Linked DNA regions of Homo sapiens: region 1 is linked to region 2. The links are contacts of gene promoters, found by promoter capture Hi-C in blood cells and fetal thymus (Javierre and others, 2016). All regions are on one chromosome and are shown on one strand. The core of a region is centred on a gene start or on the middle of the fragment in contact, and the rest is flanking DNA. Distances in the headings are between cores, read along the strand shown. Region 1 overlaps MOV10L1 (Mov10 like RNA helicase 1). Region 2 holds the start of LMF2 (lipase maturation factor 2).

Region 1 (6,425 bases), core at 1,498-3,997, 360 kb before region 2:
CGTGTGTCTGCGGCTGCACGAGAGCAAGGTGCTACAGCCGGCCACCATGGTCCGGGTGAACGCCACCTGCAGGTTCGAGGAGGTGAGCCCTTGGTGCAAGCAGTGGGGGGCACCAGAACCCCTCCCTGGAACATAGGAAATGCCAAGTGGACAGGGGAGGGCAGGGGTAGGAGGGTGGGCACAGAGGCGCCACAGAAAGCTGTGTTTGAGAAATGGCTCTGCCATGGGCCCTCCCTCACCGCTAAATGGTGGAGCTTGATTGCTGACTATTTCATCACATTCTCACTCTGTGTGAGTTATCACACCTATTGTGGGCATTCGTAGCATTGTAAAATTATCACATTCCTCTTTTATTTAATCCCCAAACGTCTTGTTACTTTTTAAGTAGTTTTGTTTTGTTGGTTTGGTGTTTTTTGTTTTGTTTTGTTTTTTTTTTTTGAGACGGAGTCTCGCTGTGTCGCCCAGGCTGAAGTGCAGTGGCATGATCTCGGCTCACTGCAAGCTCCGCCTCCCAGGTTCACACCATTCTCTGGCCTCAGCCTCCCAAGTAGCTGGGACTACAGGCACCCGCCACTGCGCCCGGCTAATTTTTTGTATTTTTAGTAGAGACGGAGTTTCACCGTGTTAGCCAGGATGGTCTCGATCTCCTGACCTCATGATCTGCCCGCCTCGGCCTCCCAAAGTGCTGGGATTACAGGCGTGAGCCACCGTGCCCGGCCTGGTTTGGTTTTAAGTATTCCTTTAAGTTGCTGGTTTGGTTATAGAGCGAAGTATTGCTTTTATTTTTTTGTTTGTTTGAGACAGAGTTTTTGCTCTTGTTGCCCAGGCTGGAGTGCAGTGGTGTGATCTTGGCTAACTGCAACCTCCGCCTCCCGGGTTCAAGCAATTCTCCTGCCTCAGCCTCCTAAGTACCTAGGATTACAGGTGTGTGCCACCACATCCAGCTAATTTTGTATTTTTAGTAGAGACAGGGTTTCACCATGTTGGTCAGGCTGGTCACGAACTCCTGATCTCAAGTGATCCACCCGCCTCTGCCTCCCAAAGTGTTGAGATTACAGGCTTTAGCCACTGTGCCCAGCCTGAAATATTGCGTTTAAAAAAGACATTGAAAATAGCTGGGCGTGGTGGCATGCGCCTGTAATCCCAGCTACTCCGGAGGCCGAAGCAGGAGAATCACTTGAACCTGGGAGGCAGAGGTTGCAGTGAGCCGAGATTGCACCATTGCACTCCAGCCTGGGCGACAGAGCAAGAGCAAGACTCCCTCTCTAAATAAACAAACAAACAAACTGAATAGAAAATGTACAAAGTTGTTTTGGGGAAGGGTCTGCAGGATTATGTGTTATATTTGTGGCTCTAGAGTTGATAAAACATGGACTGAATTGATAAGGAAGTATGAGATATTTTGAGAAAAAAACCTTAAATCATGACTTAGACGTAACTAAGAAGTGGTACCAGGGCAAGGTTCCCTTTTGGAATTCTGCTTAATAATTGGAGGAGTAAACTAACTCTACGCCTCCTTGCCCCCAGATAGTTATTGACGCCGTCAAACCGTATTGCAGAGACGGAGAAGACATCTGGAAAGCCTCACGCTTCCGGATAATCATCACCACATGCAGCAGCTCAGGGCTGTTTTACCAAATAGGAGTGAGGTGAGCCCCGGGCATGGAGCGCGGCATGGGGCCTCCCAGGGCAGAGGTCGGAGTCCTCTCCTAGCTTCTGTCTGAGGGGCGGATGACCCAGAGACTCAGTGCTCAGGGAGGGAGGCAGGGCTGTGGGCGAGAAAGGCTGGTTGGGGAGGGCCGTGCCTGAATGGAGCTGGGGAAGCCGAGACCCCAAGGACTCGAAGGAGCCAGCAGTGGGATGGGCAGGCAGATGGACTGGCCCATGCAGAGGCCCCGCGGTGGGGGAGCACTGAGGTCTCCCCAAAGGAGACTGTAGAGCCAGAGCCTCGTGAGCAGGAACGGCCTGAAAGGGGTGGTGAGGGGGAGGCCTGGCGGGCTGTGGAGGGGCCTTTGGACGACCTCTGGTGAGCCGGGAAGCCAGTGAAGGGCTTCTGAGCAGGAGAGTGAGTCTCTTGGAGTGGGCGTGGGGAGGCAGGCTGCCTAGGAAACGGCTGGGCTCTGTAAGGTCAGACCCTGGGGGCCATTTGTGTCCCTGGCGCTGGGGGCTCTTCAGGGGAGACAGGCGGAGGAGATGGATTGTGGGGTGCCGGCTGTCATAGGAGGACCTCCCCTGGGGGCTGGGAGGAAGAGCTTCGAGCCCAGGGAGGCTGAGTGAGGACCAAGGCACTCTCAGACCCCAGTGCAGGGGGGTGGGGTCGGGGAGGCAGCAGGCAGCTCCCTCTCAGTGCATAGAGCCAGACAGTGTCGGGGGCACAGGCTGAGGGTGAGAGAGGGAGAAGCCAGGGCCTCTGAGGGAAGCCCCACCCTCCCTGACGGCCTGGAGACAGGTCGCTCTGAACAGTGTCCAGCGTCACAGTGGTCGTGACCCTCCCTGACAGCCTGGAGACAGGTCACCCTGGACAGTGTCCAGCGTCACGGTGGTCGTGAGGGTGACCACAGGAGGTGGTCCGTCAGCTCCACATGGAGCAAAGGCACAGCCAGCCACGCCTATCACAGCGTGTCACGGATGGTTTCATCGGCGCGTTTAACTCTCTCACATACATGATGTCCTTTCATCATGAGATTAGTAGAACGTGATTGATGAGACACTTTACATTTTTTTTGGTTCAAGTCTTCAAAATCCACCATGTATTTTACACTTAGAGCATGTCAGGTTTCAGACTAGCCACTGTGCGGTGCCCGAGAGCCGTGTGTGGCTACCGGATTGGACAGCACGGATCTGAACAAGACAGGGATTTTTTTTGTTAATGTGTGTTGATGAGTCAAAGGTCAAGAGCCGAAGAGCCAGTCCTCACTGGGGTGCAGAGGGCTCTTTGGGGGCAGAGCGGGCACTGCATGGACCCTGCACCCTGGAGCTGATGTTCAGGTAGTGGGAGGAGGTGGCCGGCCAGGGCAGGCCGCTCTCTCAGAGGCACTCTGTGCAGAAGCAGGGAGGGTGCTGCAGGCCGCTCTCTCAGAGGCGCTCTGTGCAGAAGCAGGGAGGGTGCTGCAGGCCGCTCTCTCAGAGGCGCTCTGTGCAGAAGCAGGGAGGGTGCTGCAGGCCGCTCTCTCAGAGGCGCTCTGTGCAGAAGCAGGGAGGGTGCTGCAGGCCGCTCTCTCAGAGGCGCTCTGTGCAGAAGCAGGGAGGGTGCTGCAGGCCGCTCTCTCAGAGGCGCTCTGTGCAGAAGCAGGGAGGGTGCTGCAGGCCGCTCTCTCAGAGGCGCTCTGTGCAGAAGCAGGGAGGGTGCTGCAGGCCGCTCTCTCAGAGGCGCTCTGTGCAGAAGCAGGGAGGGTGCTGCAGGCCGCTCTCTCAGAGGCGCTCTGTGCAGAAGCAGGGAGGGTGCTGCAGCCCAGCTGCAGAGGCCCCACAGCGTTAGTTGGCCACTGGGGGCGGCTGGAGTGGGGAGGGGCACTTCAAAGGGCAAAGAAGTAGCAATGTCATCTGGCAAAAGTGACATTAAATAACTGCAATTAATACAGAATTGAAACCTAAATACTTACATTCTAGGAAAGATACATAATGTTAATTTTTTTCAACAGAAATAGGGACATGAGATGGGGAAATGGCAGTTTGCTGATTTCCACATCTTTCACTGGGAGGGGTTCACGGTGTCACTTGTGAAATCCGTGTCTTGAGAGTTACACATTGATACCTGAAGTGAAAGGTGTCAGCTGACCGTGAGTGGATGCAGGACATGTTGGGCCCAGCACTGCTGTAAGCAGGAGCCCGCCCCCGCACAGGTCTGACCACAGGGTCTCACCCCACAGTGGGACACCTGAGGCTCAGAGGTGATGGATTTGCCCAGCATCTAGGGTTGGAGAGGGGAGATCCTGGAATCAGCAGTGAGAAGGGTAAACGTGGGCTCGGCAGTGAGGACGGTGCGGGCCCAAGGTGCGTCCTGTTGAGTGTTGGCGTGGCTCCGGACACTCTCTCTGCCCCATACCTGCTTCCTCAGGCATCAGGACATGTTTCTGCCCCAAGAGCATTTCCCCACTGAGGCCTCCTGACCACAGAGCAGAAGCTGCTGGGGTGGGCGAGCCAGGGAAGCCGGGGCACCTGTTCCTCAGCTCATGGCCCCAGGTGGGGTGGCCCCTCTGCACTCTAGAAACAGATCATGTGCCGAGCGAGCTCCTGCTCTCCGCTCAGTCCCACAGCCTTCCCATGCAAGAGTTCCGCAGCTTCTCCTGACGACTCCTTCCCGCAAAATCCCCACCCCGTCCATCAGCAACGCTGTGGACTCTCTGCTCCTGCACCTCCCTTACCTCCCTTGTCACACGGAGAAGGAAGAGCCGGACAGGTACCCGCCAGGAGGGCTGCTCTGTAGCTGGGAACCTCACTGAGTTTGCAGCAGGGGCCAGAATTGTGGGGAGCCATTCTAGAGACCGCATTTTCTTTTTTTCTTTTTTTTTTTTTTTTATGAGATGGAGTCTTGCTCTGTCACCCAAGCTGGAGTGCAGTGGCGCGATCTCAGCTCACTGCAAGCTCCGCCTCCCAGGTTCACGCCATTCTCCTGCCTCAGCTTCCCGAGTAGCTGGGACTACAGGCGCCCGCCACCACACCCGGCTAATTTTTTTGTATTTTGAGTAGAGACGGGGTTTCACCGTGTTAGCCAGGATGGTCTTGATCTCCTGACCTCGTGATCCACCCATCTCGGCCTCCCAAAGTGCTGGCATTACAGGCGTGAGCCACTGCGCCCGACCAACCCCATTTTCTTAATGGTGCCGCAGATTGGGAAGTGGCTCCCAGGGCCTCAGCCTATTGGCATGCAGGCCAGGCAGTGCCCAGCTGAGAGTGGCTCACAAGGATGAGTCAGGAGGAAATGAGCGGATGGCAGGAGAGGCTGCCATCTGTGGCCGCCTGCATGGCCAGGCCTGTTCTCAGCGCTTTACAGCGGCCAGTTCAGCTGCTCTCACCTCAGCCACCTCCCGAGAGACACGTGGGAGGTGGAGGCTCAGAGAGGGGAAGTCAGGACTAGAGCCTGGGCATTTTGATAATGACAGGAGTGAGACGCAGGTGGAGAGCAGGCCAGGAGCCTGCGGCGCTTCTCCTGTGAGCTGCCCCCAGGAGGCGCTCGTGTGTTGCCCATCGCTCCCACCCCTTCTTCCCTCCACATCTCTAGAAATACAGACGCTGCGTGCAAAGCACTGGGTGCTGATGTGGCTTAGCATCTCCTGACACCTGTGGCCTGTCCTCCCTCCAGCCGGGTGACACCCAGACCCCCAGCTCCTGCACACCCCTGGGCAACCCTGCTGTGCCCCCGGGGTGCTGAGCGTGGCTTTGCCAGTGTGTCAGAGGCATCAATTGCTAAAACAATTCGGCAGAAATTACCATTTAGAACATCTTTGCTCTAGAGTTGGGCACTTCACTCACGTGTTTGTGGACGAGGCTGGGCAGGCAAGTGAGCCGGAATGCCTCATTCCTCTGGGGCTGATGTCGGACATCAGTGGCCAGGTAAGTCCCGACTACTGTGTGTGCTGCTTCCTCCTCACCCCGTTCTCCTGAGGGGATGCAGGCTGCGATCCTGCCGGGAACAGTCACAGCTGTACAGGGGTCAGGTGGAAGTGCCAAGGACCCCGAGGTGTTGGGGGCCATGGGTCTCTATTGTACTTTATTCCTTTTGGACTAGAAGTGAATGTCTTGACTCATTTACTTGTAAAACGGAGGTAAGAGCCATTCTAGGTGTTGGGGATACAGCGGTAAAGTCAGGAATGTGGTCCCTGCTCTGGGTGAGCCGGCCGTTCAGTGCCTGGAGGGGCGGACAGGGCCAGTGCTCCTGCATCTGACCCACTTGCCCCTCAGGCTGCCCTGGCCTCCAGCTCTGTGCATCCTCTGTTCTCTGCTCCCACCTGCTTCCTCCCCGAGTGCTTCTGATGGTGGCGTGGGCATCACCTTGAACTTCCCTGGTTCTCTCACTGTGGCTCATCCAGGCGAGCTCATCCAGTGTCCAGCACTGGACATTTCAGGGTCCTCCTTGGCACCCATCCTAGATGTCTGTCCCAGTCACCAGGCACTGTGGGGCGGAGCATGAAGGTGACGCCTAGGGAGGGAGCAGGGACTGGTCCAGGCAGAGCAGCGGCATAGGGCGGCCTGACCAGGTCAAGGCAACCATGGGCAAGAGGCAAGGGGCAGGTGGGATGGCGGCCAGGGCCAGCCATGCAGAAGCTTCCAGAAGATAGACGGCATCCTTGGGGCTCTTACCACTTTGAGAGATTCGCAGGAGAGAAAACCAGGCTGCAGAAGCCGGGCAGATGGCAGGACTTCGGGGAGGCAGATGGCAGGACTTCAGGGGGAAGCGGGGAGAGACGGCTCCAAGCCCTGTCGGC
Region 2 (6,361 bases), core at 588-3,087:
TGGCAGGCACCCACCTCCACCCTGCAGGGTGCATCCCTCTGCTACAAGGCCTTCCCAACAGCGGTTGCCAGCTGTCCCCGGGAGCCACGCTGTCCCCAACAGGGCACGCTGAGCAGCGCTGAAGGCCGAGCCCTGTCTGCCTCTCTCTGACAGCTGCGGCCCTCACCCACCTGCGAGTAGAAAGCAGCCAAGCGCAGGCGTCGAATGGGGGCGAAGAACAGGGGCGGCACAGCGATCTCAATTAGGAAGGTGGCCACCACGCTGAGCTTGTGCAGCCAGACCGGCAGGTGGTGTGCGAACCAGGCGGCGGGCGTGGGCAGGCACTGGGTCTCGTAGTGGTAGGTGAGGGCTGCAGGCGAGGGCAGGAGTCAGGGCTGGCCGAGCCCCCAGACTACCCCAGGTCCAGACCGGGCCCCTCACCAGTGAGCCCCCACCACGCAGGGCAGCGGCTGGTCAGCTTGACCACGCCTGAGGCGAACATGAGGCGGAACAGCAGCCATCGCACCAGCCAGAAGGGGAGGTCTTCGTGGGGCAGGGCCCCTGCCTGCCTGCCCTGGGGGGCCTCCTTGCGGTGGGAGGCTGGCCTCAGCGGGGCCACCAGCACGGCCAGGAAGCCAGTCTCTAGCAGCAGGGAGTCCCTATGGGGAGAGCAAATAGCACCAAGAGCCCCTCCCCACACAGCTGCTTCCCTCGGAAAGTCCTCCCAGGAAGGGCAGAGCCCTCCCCCACCCCCTACCCAGCCTCCCACAGCCCCAGGCCCAGCCGTCACTCACCACTGGAAATAAAGGAACACCTGGCCCACCTGCGGAGAGAGGGGCTGTCAGGGAGCGGGTGTGTCTGTGGACTCAGGTAAGGTAGAGGCAGGGGTGGGTGGTGGGGGTTGGAGATAGAGTGAGCTGGTCACAGGTCCCACTTGCCTGGCAGGCTGACAGGTAGGCGGCCCAAAGCAGCAAGTAGATGACAGGGTGGCGCAGTGGGCTCAGCAGCAGGGCTCCCAGGGCCACTAGTGCACCCAGCAGGCTCAGCAGCTCCAGGCCCTGGGCCGTGTCCAGCCCCAGTCTCGGCGCTTCCCACAGCAGCGTCGGGGTCTCCCACAGCTGCTGCCAGCGCCCCTTGCCCTGAGGCCGCAGCGTCCTCCTTGCAGGTAGGATGCCCTCGGGGCCATACAGGCCTGTGGGAGGGCATGTCATGGCCAGGCCCTGGACAGCCCTTGCAGACTAGACTACCTCTGAGTCAGGGCCTGCAGATCCCCCAGCCTAGGTCAGAGCATGCGGATACCTCCATCCCTAGGTCAGAGTCTGCAGTCCCTCCAGAGCCCGTCCCCCAGGTCGGGACCTGTCAAAACCCCGTCCCAGGGCTAGAGGCCTGCTCAACTACCTGAGTCAGGGCCTCCCACCCAGCAGAGCCCACTGCCCTCTTCCAGGTCTCAGCCCGATCTCCTACCTGTCCCACCAGGTCTGGGAGGAAGCCTCTCTCCCACCTCTCTCAGAGTTCTGTCCCCCACCCCAGGTCAGAGTCCAGAGCCTTACGGGAAATGGATCACCGCACACCTTCCTACCCCCACAGCGGCCTGCAGGACACGAACCGCCGCCCCCTACCCCACGCCAAGGCCTGGCCCTCACTCCCAACCCCGGACTGCGTGAGTGCCGGGCACAGAGAAAAGAGGACATAGGGTCCCGCGCCGAGGCTGGGGGTGTCCCACCCTGGGTGCCTTCACCTGGGATTTGCGTGTAGAGGGAAGCGAAAGCAAACATGAAGACGGCCGCCACGCCCTGGAGGAAGAGCTGCCGCGGGAGCCGGGAGCCCGCCATGTCCGCTACGCGGCCCGCTAGAGCAGGGCCCGCCCTCCGCGTCCGCCCGCCCGCGGCAGCCCCAGGCCCCGCCTCCTCACCGCCCCGCCCGCCCAATCCGTGGCAGCCCCAAGCCCCGCCTCCTCGGCCCGCCCGCCCGCCCGCGGCAGTCCCAGGCCCCGCCTCCTCACCGCCCCGCCCGCCCAACCCGTGGCAGCCCCAAGCCCCGCCTCCTCGGCCCGTCCGCCCGCCCGCGGCTGCCCCAGGCCCCGCCTCCTCACCGCCCCGCCCCCCCAACCCGTGGCAGCCCCCAAGCCCCGCCTCCTCGGCCCGCTCGCCCGCGGCAGCTCCAGGCCCCGCCCCACCCCGCCCCGCCCGACCCACGGCGGCCCCAAAAGCCCTCCCGTCCAAACTGGTGGCAGCCCAAAGCTCCGCCCACCCCCCCCTCCCGGAGGCTTCGACCCCGCCCCGCGACTCTTCCGGTGAGCTCCCGCTGCGCGGCGCCGGGGTTCGCCTCTCTGGCTTTTGCCCACGTTACGTCATAGACATGCGCGCGACGCCGCGCCTACGCATTTTCCTGGGCGGGAACAGCAAAATGGCGCCAGAACTAGTGGCGGGCTGAGGACGCCGTACCCCTCGGAAGGCAGCCCTGCGGTCCCTTTGCCGCCCGTTCCCTCCCGGACATGGAGGACGTGGAGGCGCGCTTCGCCCACCTCTTGCAGCCCATCCGCGACCTCACCAAGAACTGGGAGGTGGACGTGGCGGCCCAGCTGGGCGAGTATCTGGAGGAGGTAAGGGCGGCGGGGGAGTGACGCGGGGTGGGCCGGCGGGTGGGGCTGCGGGGCGGGGGCTCCGGGCCCGGGGCTGTGGGCGCCCCACCGTCTCCACGCCTATGGCTATCTGGCGCTCTGGCCGCGCAGGTCCTCGGGCTCCCTGCTTCTTTTCAAACTCCATCTCTGCCTCCCCAAATCATCCCTTGTTGGATTAGCGTGGACCTGTCATTGCAGGTTTCTACCCGTCAGCGAGCCGTGAATGATTGAGTGGGTGGTGACCAGCCGTTTCTCTAACGTAGTGGAATAGACTAGAAAGCATTATTGCTTTTATTGCAGTTATTGCGAGCATGCTTGTGTGTTTGAGAGGTCTGGATCACGATGTCAGAGGAATTTTTTATCTTGGATTTTCAAACCAATTTCAAGCTATTGCCATGCTCTATCCTGTTAGCGATTAGTGTTTCTTCCATGTTTGACAGCCCTGTCTAGACCTGTGTTAAGCTGTCTGCTCCATATTTGCGCTTCATTTTTACTCCTCAGCCCAGCTCAGTCTGGCGTCCACGACACTTAAATGTTTCTTGTCTTGATCAGCAGTGATCTCCATTCTACCAAATCCAAGGGACATAAGTCAGCATTTGTTGGACTGGCCACTCCTTTCTTTTTGAAACATGGTGGTAGGATTTTTTTTCCCTATTTCATTGCCTGATTTTTCTTTTCTATCCAGTCTCTAAGTGTTGAGTTCCTCAGGATGGGGCCTAGGTCATCTTCTGATGCATTTACCCTGAAGTGTCATTTATTTCTATGATTTTAAATATTGCCTGTATTAGGACAACTACCAGATCTGCAGCTCCATCCTAGATCTTTCCTCCAAATCTACTTTACATATCCAGCTGCTCTCTTGACATCTAGTGGGTGTCACGCAAACATCTCATTTAACATATTTAAAGTGGAACTCTTCATTTTTCTGCTTAAACCCCAGCTTTTCCCATCTCGGAAAATGACACCGCTGTTCAACCAAAAGCAAAAGCTAAATGTGGCTATAGTGAAGCCCCATGCTTAACACTCAGTTCATCCATGAATTCCATCAGTTATACCACCGGAATATCACTTGAATTCATCTGTTGTCCATTTTATTTGGTCTAGGCCACCATTGTCTCTGGCCTGGATTTGTGTAAAACCTTCCTATTTGGGTTCCCTTATCCCTGTTTTTGTCCCGTCCAATTCGTGCTCCAACCAGCAGCAAGTGTGACTCTTAAAAATTAAAATCTGGCCACAGCACTGTTTTCTGCCTAAAATCAACCCCTCAGTGGCTTTCCATTATGCCCAGAATAAAACCCAAATTTCCTTCTCTGAACCTGGCTCTGCTCTCCATTTTAGCCTCATTTTGGGCTGTTTTGTATCTTGTTCTTTTGAACCAGTCAACCTATGGCCCCTCCAAGCTTTTTCTTGGTGGAAGATCTTCATGCTTTCTGCCCCCACTTGGGAATCTTCTTTTTTGTTTTTATTTATTTATTTATATATTTTGAGACGGAGTCTCACTCTGAGACGGAAGTGCAGTGGCGCGATCTGAGCTCACTGCAAGCTCCGCCTCCTGGGTTCACATCATTCTGCCTCAGCCTCTGCAGTAGCTGGGACTACAGGCGCCCGCCTCCACGCCCAACTAATTTTTTTGTATTTTAGTAGAGACAGGGTTTCACCGTGTTAGCCAGGATGGTCTCGATCTCCTGACCTCGTGATCCGCCTGCCTTGGCCTCCCAAAGTGCTGGGATTACAGGCGTGAGCCACCGCGCCCGGCCTCTTTTTTGTTTTTAAATAAAGAGGGACTTCATATGGCAAGGAAAAGGAGAAAAAAAAAATCAGAGAGGAGGATCTTACTGTGTTGCCCAGGCTGGTCTCAAACTGCTGTGCTCAAGCAGTCCTCCTGCCTCAGCTTCTCAGGTAGCTGGGACTATAGCTGTGCACCACCACACCTGGCTGGGAATATTCTTTCAATGACTGAGTTTGTTTTCTTTTCTTTTTTTGAGATGGAGTCTTGCTCTGTTGCCCGGGCTGGAGTACAATGGCAGAATCTTGGCTCACTGCAACCTCCGACTCCCAGGTTCAAGCAATTCTCCTGCCTTGGCCTCCCGAGTAGCTGGGATTACAGGCATGCACCACCACGTCCAGTTAATTTTTGTATTTTTAGTAGAGATGGGTTTCGCCACATTGGCCAGGCTGGTCTCAAACTCCTGACCTCAGGTGATCCAGCCAGCTCTGCCTCTTTCCAAAGTGCTGGGATTACAGACGTGAGCCACCACGCCTGGCTGACTGAGTCCTTTTCATTCTTAAGGTCTTAGTGTAAATGTCAGCTGACCACCCTATCTAAAATAGTCCTCTCCATCTCAGCACCTTACACACTTTAGAATGTTTATCATAAACCATTTAAATTTTTTTTTTTTTTGAGATGGAGTCTTACTCTGTCGCCCAGGCTGGAGTGCAGTGGCATGATCTCAGCTCACTGCAAGCTCTGCCTTCTGGGTTCACGCCATTTTCCTGCCTCAGCTTCCCGAGTAGCTGGGACTACAGGCACCTGCCACCACACCCGGCTAATGTTTTGTATTTTTAGTAGAGACGGGGTTTTACCGTGTTAGCCAGGATGGTCTCGATCTCCTGACCTGGTGATCCGCCCGTGTCGGTGTCCCAAAGTGCTGGGATTACAGGCATGAGCCACCGCGCCCAGCCAAAAAAAATTTTATTTATTTATATGTTTTTTTTTTGAGATGGAGTCTCACTCTGTCACCCAGGCTGGAGTGCAGTGGTGCAATCTCAGCTTGCTGCAGCCTCCACCTTCTGGGTTCAAGCAGTTCTCCTGCCTCAGCCTCTTTTTTTTTTTTTTTTTTTTTTGAGACGGAGTCTCACTCTGTCGCCCAGGCTGGAGTGCAGTGGTGCAATCTCGGCTCACTGCAAGCTCCACCTCCTGGGTTCACACCATTCTCCTGCCTCAGCCTCCCGAGTAGCTGGGACTACTGGCACCCGCCACCACGCCCGGCTAATTTTTTGTATTTTTTTAGTAGAGACGGGGTTTCACCGTGTTAGCCAGGATGGTCTCGATCTCCTGACCTCATGATCCACCCGCCTCGGCCTCCCAAAGTGCTGGGATTACAGGCCTGAGCCACCGCGTCCGATCCTGCCTCAGCCTCTTGAGTAGCCGGGATTACAGGCGCCTGCCACCACGCCTGGCTAATTTTTTTTTTTTTCTTGAGACAGAGTCTTGCCCTGTGGCCCAAGTTGGAGTGCAGTGGCACAATCTCGGCTCACTGCAAGCTCCATCTCCTGGGTTCGCGCCATTCTCCTACTTCAGCCTCCTCAGTAGCTGGGATTACAGGCGCCCGCCACCACGCCTGGCTAATTTTTTTGTATTTTTCAGTAGAGACAGGGTTTCACCATGTTAGCCAGGATGGTCTTGGTCTCCTGACCTCGTGATCCACCCGCCTCGGCCTCCCAAAATGCTGGGATTACAGGTGTGAGCCACCGTGCCTGGCCCCAGCTAATTTTTGTATTTTTAGTAGAGATGGGGTTTCACCATGTTGGCCAGGCTGGTCTTGAACTCTTGACCTCGTGATCCGCCCACCTCATCCTTTGAAAGTGCTGGGATTGCAGGTGTGAGCCACTGCGACTGGCCACAAGCCATTCTTCAACTCATTTACCTGTTTGTGGCCTGTCTCCACCCTAGAATGTGAATTCTGCCAGGGCAGGGACCATACTTATGCCCTCTTTTGTCTGCTTAGTAGAGTGCCTGGCACATAGGTGTGGACGTTAAAG

The links. Contacts are between HindIII fragments. The CHiCAGO score rates a contact against its expected background, and 5 or more counts as called.
Region 1: a fragment that was not itself captured here is called in contact with the fragment with the promoter of LMF2 in region 2 in 5 of 17 cell types (monocytes, M0 macrophages, fetal thymus and 2 more); the score reaches 6.9 in monocytes.

What each region holds. Positions count from the first base shown.
Region 1 is chr22:50,144,162-50,150,586 of GRCh38, forward strand. It overlaps MOV10L1 (Mov10 like RNA helicase 1), which reads left to right. Exons shown (of 27, transcript NM_018995.3): 18 at 1-82; 19 at 1,528-1,649; 20 at 5,454-5,553. Among named protein-coding and RNA genes, the nearest start is that of PANX2, 23 kb to the right of the region's middle. The HindIII fragment of the contact is 7,030 bases long and covers 1-6,262 here.
Region 2 is chr22:50,505,865-50,512,225 of GRCh38, forward strand. LMF2 (lipase maturation factor 2) reads right to left here and starts at 1,838. Exons shown (of 14, transcript NM_033200.3): 1 at 1,718-1,838; 2 at 918-1,171; 3 at 774-802; 4 at 421-638; 5 at 171-349. The coding sequence starts at 1,811. NCAPH2 (non-SMC condensin II complex subunit H2) reads left to right here and starts at 2,360. Exons shown (of 20, transcript NM_152299.4): 1 at 2,360-2,581. The coding sequence starts at 2,474. RefSeq lists an enhancer at 1,569-1,618 and silencers at 1,839-1,938, 2,609-2,898. The HindIII fragment of the contact is 8,515 bases long and covers 1-3,997 here.